Linked DNA regions of Homo sapiens: region 1 is linked to region 2. Evidence: promoter capture Hi-C in 16 types of primary human blood cells and fetal thymus (Javierre and others, 2016). All regions are on one chromosome and are shown on one strand. The core of a region is centred on a gene start or on the middle of the fragment in contact, and the rest is flanking DNA. Distances in the headings are between cores, read along the strand shown.

Region 1 (3,348 bases), core at 583-3,082, 240 kb before region 2:
ATTTCATTTTTTAAGTTGGAAGATCTGAGCATGTTTAAGTGTTTAGTATCATGCCCGTTTTACAGAAAAAAAGAGGCTCTTAGAAACTACGATTTTACTCCGATGCGGAGATTCTAGAACAAGATCCAGGTAATACATCAGTCAGGATAGGCTAGGTTATGCTGTAGCAGCACACACCCACTAAATCTCAGTAAGCTGAATACATCCTAGTTTTCTTCTCCCTCTTACTACGTATCCTAGGGTGCGTTGGCAGGGAGTCTGCTCATCTTAGCCACTCAGTGACCCAGGTCACCGGATGATGGTTTCATCTCCATAATTGGGGCAGCTGGCAGAAAGGGATACAATGGCCGGCTCAGTCGCCTTTAAAGCTGGTGGGAAGTAACATATTACCTCTGTGTGTTTCAAGTGGGTCAGGGAAGTGCCAGTCCTACCATGTGCCCAGAAAGGGAAAGCACTGGAAACGTTGATGAGCAGCGCTGCCTACTCCATGACACTTCCAGTATTAGAAATAACCACAAACGCTTTTTTTTCTTTCTTTTCTTTCTTTTTTTTCTTTTTTTTTTTTTTTTTTTTTTTGAGACGGAGTCTCCCTATGTCGCCCAGGCTGGAGTGCAGTGGCGCAGTCTTGGCTCACTGAAACCTCCGCCTCCCGGGTTCAAGAGATTCTCCTGCCTCAGCCTCCCAAGTAGCTGGGATTACAGGCATGCGCCAGGGCGCCTGGCTTTTCTTTTCTTTTCTTTTTGTATTTTCAGTAGAGATGAGGGTTCACCATGTTGGCCAGGCTGGTCTTGAACTCCTGACTTCAAGTGATCCAAAGGTCGGCTACAAACTTGTATTATCTGATACCTACTTTGAGCCCAGGCCAGAAAGGATAAAGTAAAGCATGAGACGTTGTTAGTTCATTTCAACAGATTGGGGAGTTGTGGGTTTTAGTCTCTGACGCTTCATTGTTACCATGAGAGCCTGCAAGTTTTTCTTTTTTCTCTTTTTTTTTTTTTTAACCTCTTTGGGTCATCTGGGAGGACGTGGTGCTCTTTTAGCTCTAACATTTTCTGGTTGCAATGCGTTTAGGACTGGGATGCGAAGTGAGTGAGTGAGTGAGCCTTCTCAGGAAAACACTTTCTAGAATTTTGTCCGAGTGTCTGTTGGGAAACGCGCTTACATCCCGCAGAAGGCGGTAAGGACACAGCGCACAACTCTGCATTATACCTGCGAGTTAAAAAGCCAAGGGTTCGCTCACTCAACCTTGAATGCGCGTCAGAATCACCTGGGGGAGGTTTTACAAAATACCCGTGCTCCACCCAAGACAATGAAATCAGACTCCCTGCGAGCGGGGCCGAACATCAGCATTTTTGAGGACGCTCCCTGTGGCTGTGCATCGGTGATCTTTAATCCCCTGCTACTTGTTAGAGGAGCTGGATGACACTTCGTGGGCTCATTCTCATAAATAAGCTGCTGAATGGAGTCCTCTCCTCCCAAGAGTTGTCGGTGTTGCATCTTTTTTGTTGTTTATTTTTTTTTAAGCCAACGGACGAAGACATCCAACGGTGCTGCATCTTAATGGAGGGACATCCAGCTAAAGGGAATCTTGGAGACCTCCGCGGGTTTCTAGCAGCTCGCGGCATGTTGGTTTCCCAGGGCAAGAGGCCGCCACTGAAGGTCAGCTCTGTCTTTCCAGCTGGGCACTGGAGGCTCTAAGTCTGTTTTCAGCAGGATCGGAGGAAGGAGACGGGGTGGCGCCAAGGAAGGAGGAGAAAAGGCGGCCGAGAAAAGGAGGAGGGCAAGGGGAAGAGGAAGGGCGAGGGAGGAGCCTGAGGAGACTCGCCCGGCTCAACCCCGACGTCCGCGCCCCGGCCGCCTGTTGGCCATGGCGGGCCTGGGCCTGGGCTCCGCCGTTCCCGTGTGGCTGGCCGAGGACGACCTCGGCTGCATCATCTGCCAGGGGCTGCTGGACTGGCCCGCCACGCTGCCCTGCGGCCACAGCTTCTGCCGCCACTGCCTGGAGGCCCTGTGGGGCGCCCGCGACGCCCGCCGCTGGGCCTGCCCCACTTGCCGCCAGGGCGCCGCGCAGCAGCCGCACCTGCGGAAGAACACGCTACTGCAGGACCTGGCCGACAAGTACCGCCGCGCCGCACGCGAGATACAGGCGGGCTCCGACCCTGCCCACTGCCCCTGCCCGGGCTCCAGTTCCCTCTCCAGCGCGGCCGCGAGGCCCCGGCGCCGCCCGGAACTGCAGCGGGTAGGGAGGCCGGGCCCGCAGCTCCCCTGGCTCCCCCGGGCTGCCCGCCGCCTGACCCTTTCCCATGTGGCTCGAACCCCTTTCCTCAGCCGTTCTACTTTTACGTTCCTTTTCTCAGTCTAAAAGTCGAGTTCCGCTCTTCGGAGGCACTTTGGAAAGTTCATAAAAGTATGAAGAAGTAGAAAAAAACAAATTCCCCATCTTCCGAAAGCTTGTCAACTTAGCTGTTACACAGCTTGGCATATTTCAACTTCTTCCCAATCGATCTTCGGTCTCTTTCTCTGAAACTTGTAAAATTGTGGTAAGATCTATATAACATTAAAACTGGCCATTTTAACCTTTTTCTTTATTTCTTTGAGACGGAGTCTCGCTCTGTCGCCCAGGCTGGATGGAGTGCAATGGCGTGCGTGATCTCGGCTCACTGCAACCTCCGCCCCCCAGGGTCGAGTGATTCTCTTGCTTCAGGCTCGAGAGTAGCTGGGATTACAGGCGTGCGCCATCACGCCCGGCTAATTTTGGTATTTTTAGTAGAGACGGGGTTTCGACATGTTAGCCAGGCTAGTCTCAAACTCTTGACCACAGATGATCCGTCCGCCTCGGCCTCCCAAAGTGCTGGGATTACAGTCATGAGCCACAGCGCCTGGCCTCATTTTAACCTTTTATTTTTTTGAGACGGAGTTTTGCTTTGTGGCCCAGGCTGGAGTGCAGTGGCGCCATCTTGTCTCACTGCAAGCTCCGCCTCCCGGGTTCACGCCATTCTCCTGCCTCAGCCTCCCGAGTAACTGGGACTACAGGCGCCCGCCACCACGCCTGGCTAATTTTTTGTATGTTTTTTTCTTTTTTTAAAAAATAGGGACGGGGTTTCACCGTTGTTAGCCAGGATGGTCTCGATCTTCTGACCTCGTGATCTGCCCGCCTCGGCTTCCTAAAGTGCTGGGATTACAGGTGTGAGCCACCGCGCCCCGCCTATTTTAACCATTTTTAAGTGTACAATTCAGTGACAAATTAGTTACATTTCCTGTTGTGCAACTATCACTTCTGTTTCCAAAACTGTTTCATCATCATAAACAGAAACTTTGTACTCATTAAGCAGTAACTCCTCATTTCTC
Region 2 (3,715 bases), core at 1,205-3,704:
TTTTTCTTCTTGAGACAGAGTCCCACTCCGAGTCCCACTCTGTCACCCAGGCTGGAGTGAGTGCAGTGATGCAATCTTGGCTCACTCCAACCTCTACCTTCCAGGTTCAAGTGATCTCCTGCTTTAGCCTCCCGACTAGCTGGGGTTACAGGTGCCCACCATCATGCCAGCTAATTTTGTGTTTTTAGTAGACCATTTAGCACCATTTTGGGCAGGCTACTCTTGAACTGTGACCTCAGGTGATCCACCTGCCTCAGTCTCCCAAAATGCAGGGCTTATAGGCATGAGCCACTGTGCCTGGCCTCTTTTAGCTCTCTTTAAAACTGTATGTGTGTTTGTTGGGTCTGTTTTTATAGCTAAAGAAACTGAAGCTTAAATAAAGTTATATTAATAACAAATGCATGGTTAATGAACAGTCAACCAGAGTTAGTTCTGAGGTTTCTTGACATTCAGTTCAGTGTCTTTATCAGGTTCTTTAGTTGTCCTTCTTCACTAGCAAGTTAGCTTGATGAAAGCAGTAGCTTTGTCTGGCTTAATCAACACTGAATCCCTAACGTTTGAACAACATCTGATACATATTGGGCATTTAGTACATGTTTGCAGAATGAATGAAGGAATGAATTTCTTACTTGATGTGGTTTCAAAATCCTCGTACAGGCCGGGCACAGTGGCTCATGCCTATAATACCAGCACTTAGGGAGGCCGGGGCGGGCAGGTCACTTGAGACCAGGAGTTTGAGACCAACTGGGCCAACATGGTGAAACCTTGTCTCTACTAAAAATGCAAAAAAATTAGGCAGGCGTGGTGGCAGGCACTTGTAGTTATAGCTACTCAGGAGGCTGAGGCAGGAGAATTGCTTGAACCCGGGAGGCGGAGGTTGCAGTGAGCCAAGATTGTGTCACTGCACTGTCAGCCTGGGCAACGGAGCGAGACTCTGTCTCAAAGAAACAAAAACAAAAAACAAAAAACCCTCCTGTTTCTGATTTGCTTCTCTTCTGGAAAGACCAACCTGACAAAAATTTTTAAAATTAAAATGCCATATTAAGATCTGATGTTAGTGATACAGATATAATACTATGATGTAATAATTGATAAAAGCTATTAAACTGCTGTGTTTGTATACCCTGTTTCTATTAATACAATCTAAGATAGTATTATTATTTTATGTTGACTTTTTAGTTATTTAAACTCTTTGGCCCTTTTTATATGAATGTTGAGCCATAACTTCTCCTTTGTACCTTTGTAGTATTTTTTTAATATTTGAAATGTTTGTCTTAGCACTGATTTTACTATTTGCAAACTAACATCTCCTGCTTTCATAAAATTCAAAACTGCCAATAACAGATATATGAATTTTCACAAGTATTTGTTATTTCTCAACATTTTTTATCTTAAGTGGCATGCTGGCTCACCAGATCTTTCTTACATGCCTGTTATTCAGTCACATGGTCTAAATTAACAAGTGGTTTGGGCCTTTAATAGATATCTGAAGACTCTGGTTCATGAATTTCTTCCCAGACATGATTGCCTCTCATCTTTGGCCAGATCACATGTACCAGCTTCTATTCCTACTAATACCTGCAATATAGAAGATCAACTAATGAATGAATGAATTTTTTTCTTACATTTCTAATTAAGAAACACATTGCTTCTTTAGCATGTTTTTCCTCACTTTCTGTAACCCACTAAAATTAAAAGGTATTTGAGATGAATTAAATTTATTGGAATTTCTGAAGTCATACATTTCATATTAGGCAACCATGTTGGAACAGAATTTACATGTTGATATTTGGGATTAAGAGGTGACATAATTAAACTAATATAGTCATACATCACTTAATGACAGGGACATGTCTTGAGAAATGAGTGCATCCTTAGTGATTCAGTCATTGTGCAAACATCATAGAGTCTGCTTACATGAACCTAGATGGTTATATAGCCTGCTACATACCTAGGATATATGGTCTAGCCTACTGCTCCTAGGCTGCAAACCTAGACTAAACAGCATGTTACTGTACTGAATACCTTAGGCAGTTGTAGCACAATGGTAAGTATTTGTTTATTCAAACAGAAAAGGTGCAGTAACAATACAGTATAAAAGAAAAAAATGTATAGGACACTTAACACAAATGGAGTTTGCAGGACTGGAAGTTGCTGTGGGTGAGTCATTGAGTGAGTGTTGAGTGCATGTGAAGCCTAGGACATTACACTACTGTAGACTTAAAATTTTTTTAAATTTATTTTACTTTTAATACTTTTGCATTTTTCTCATACTCAGGATCTATACTGTAGACTTTATAAACACTACACTTAAGCTATATCAAATTTATAAAAAATATTTTTATATGATAACTTTACAGTAGCTTTTAAAATATAAACTTTTAAATTTTTTAATTTTTTGACTTGTAATAACACTTAGCTTAAAACACTTTGTATAGCTAGCTGTATAAAATATTTTTCTTTATATCCTGTAAGTTTTTTCTATTTGAAAATGTTCTATTTTAATTTTTATTTTGAAAACTGTTTTAAGATCTGGGACACAAACATACACGTTAGCCTAGGCCTACATGGGGTCAAGATCATCAATCAGTGTTACTGTCTTCCACCTCCACATCTGCTCCCATTGGAAGGTTTTTAGGGGAAATAACGTGTGGAGCTGTCATCTCTTGTGGTAACAATGCCTTCTTCTGGAATACCTACTGAAGGACCTTCTGAGGCTGTGTTTCATAGTTAACTTTTTATCTTTAAGTAGGAGTATAACAATACAAAGTATACTATAGTAGGCTGGGCCTGGTGGCTCACGCCTGTAGTCCCAGCACTTTGGGAGGCCAAGGCAAGTGGATCACCTGAGATCAGGAGTCGAGACCAGCCTGGCCAACATGGCAAAACCTCTTCTCTACTAAAAATAGAAAAAAATTAGCTGGGCGTGGTGGTGCATGCCTGTAGTCCCAGCTACTTGGGAGGCTGAGGCAGGAGAATTGCCTGAACCCGGGAGGCAGAGGTTGCAGTTAGCCGAGATCGCGCCACTGCACTCCAGCCTGGGCAACAAAGTGAGACTTGGTCTCAAAATATATATATTATAATAAATACATAAACCAGTAACAGTTATTTATTCTCATCAAGTATTGTATACTGTACATAATTGTATGTGCTATACTTTTTTTTTATATGACTAGAAGTGAAGATTTGTTTACACCAGCATCACTACAAACAATAACGCATTGTGCTTGGACATCACGATGGCTATGATACTAAGTGATAGGAATTTTTCAGCTATGTTACATATTGTCTATCATTGACTGAAATGTTGTTTTGTGGCATATGACTCTATTTACGTTTTTTGGAAATGATTCTTAAGGAAAAATTCTGATACCTGCTCATTGTTCTCTGATCTTGTGTTCCTGTGCAATGGCTGCATCAGGGAAGAGCCATTTGATAGTTACACTTAGTTACATCAAAGTAAATAAATTCGTTTAATCAAAGTTTCAGCTTGATCTGAGGTGAAACACCTCAACTTAGAGTGAGGAAAAAAATACAGTTGAAAGAGAGCAAACAGTAAAACCAGAATTTATTAAATCATTTAGTAAAACATTTGCTTTGGGGTCAGGGGGCAGTTATAAAAAGCAAACTATTTGGAAGTTTTGCTATTTCTCTTCTGTAGTGACATTCTTGAGTATAAATGTGTGCATTAAATAGCTATTCTTCCCCGCAAGGA

What was found. The method cuts DNA at HindIII sites, captures the fragments that hold promoters and counts their contacts. A CHiCAGO score of 5 or more calls a contact.
Region 1: the fragment with the promoter of RNF135 here is called in contact with a fragment that was not itself captured in region 2 in 3 of 17 cell types (megakaryocytes, M2 macrophages and endothelial precursors); the score reaches 9.1 in megakaryocytes.

What each region holds. Positions count from the first base shown.
Region 1 is chr17:30,969,207-30,972,554 of GRCh38, forward strand. It overlaps RNF135 (ring finger protein 135), which reads left to right and starts at 1,833. Exons shown (of 5, transcript NM_032322.4): 1 at 1,833-2,239. The coding sequence starts at 1,868. RefSeq lists enhancers at 969-1,058, 1,119-1,178, 1,247-1,808, 1,459-1,708, 1,809-2,370 and 1 more and a silencer at 1,789-2,328. The HindIII fragment of the contact is 12,676 bases long and covers 1-2,448 here.
Region 2 is chr17:31,209,645-31,213,359 of GRCh38, forward strand. The region is part of intron 12 of NF1 (neurofibromin 1); the gene reads left to right. Among named protein-coding and RNA genes, the nearest start is that of OMG, 86 kb to the right of the region's middle. The HindIII fragment of the contact is 4,171 bases long and covers 370-3,715 here.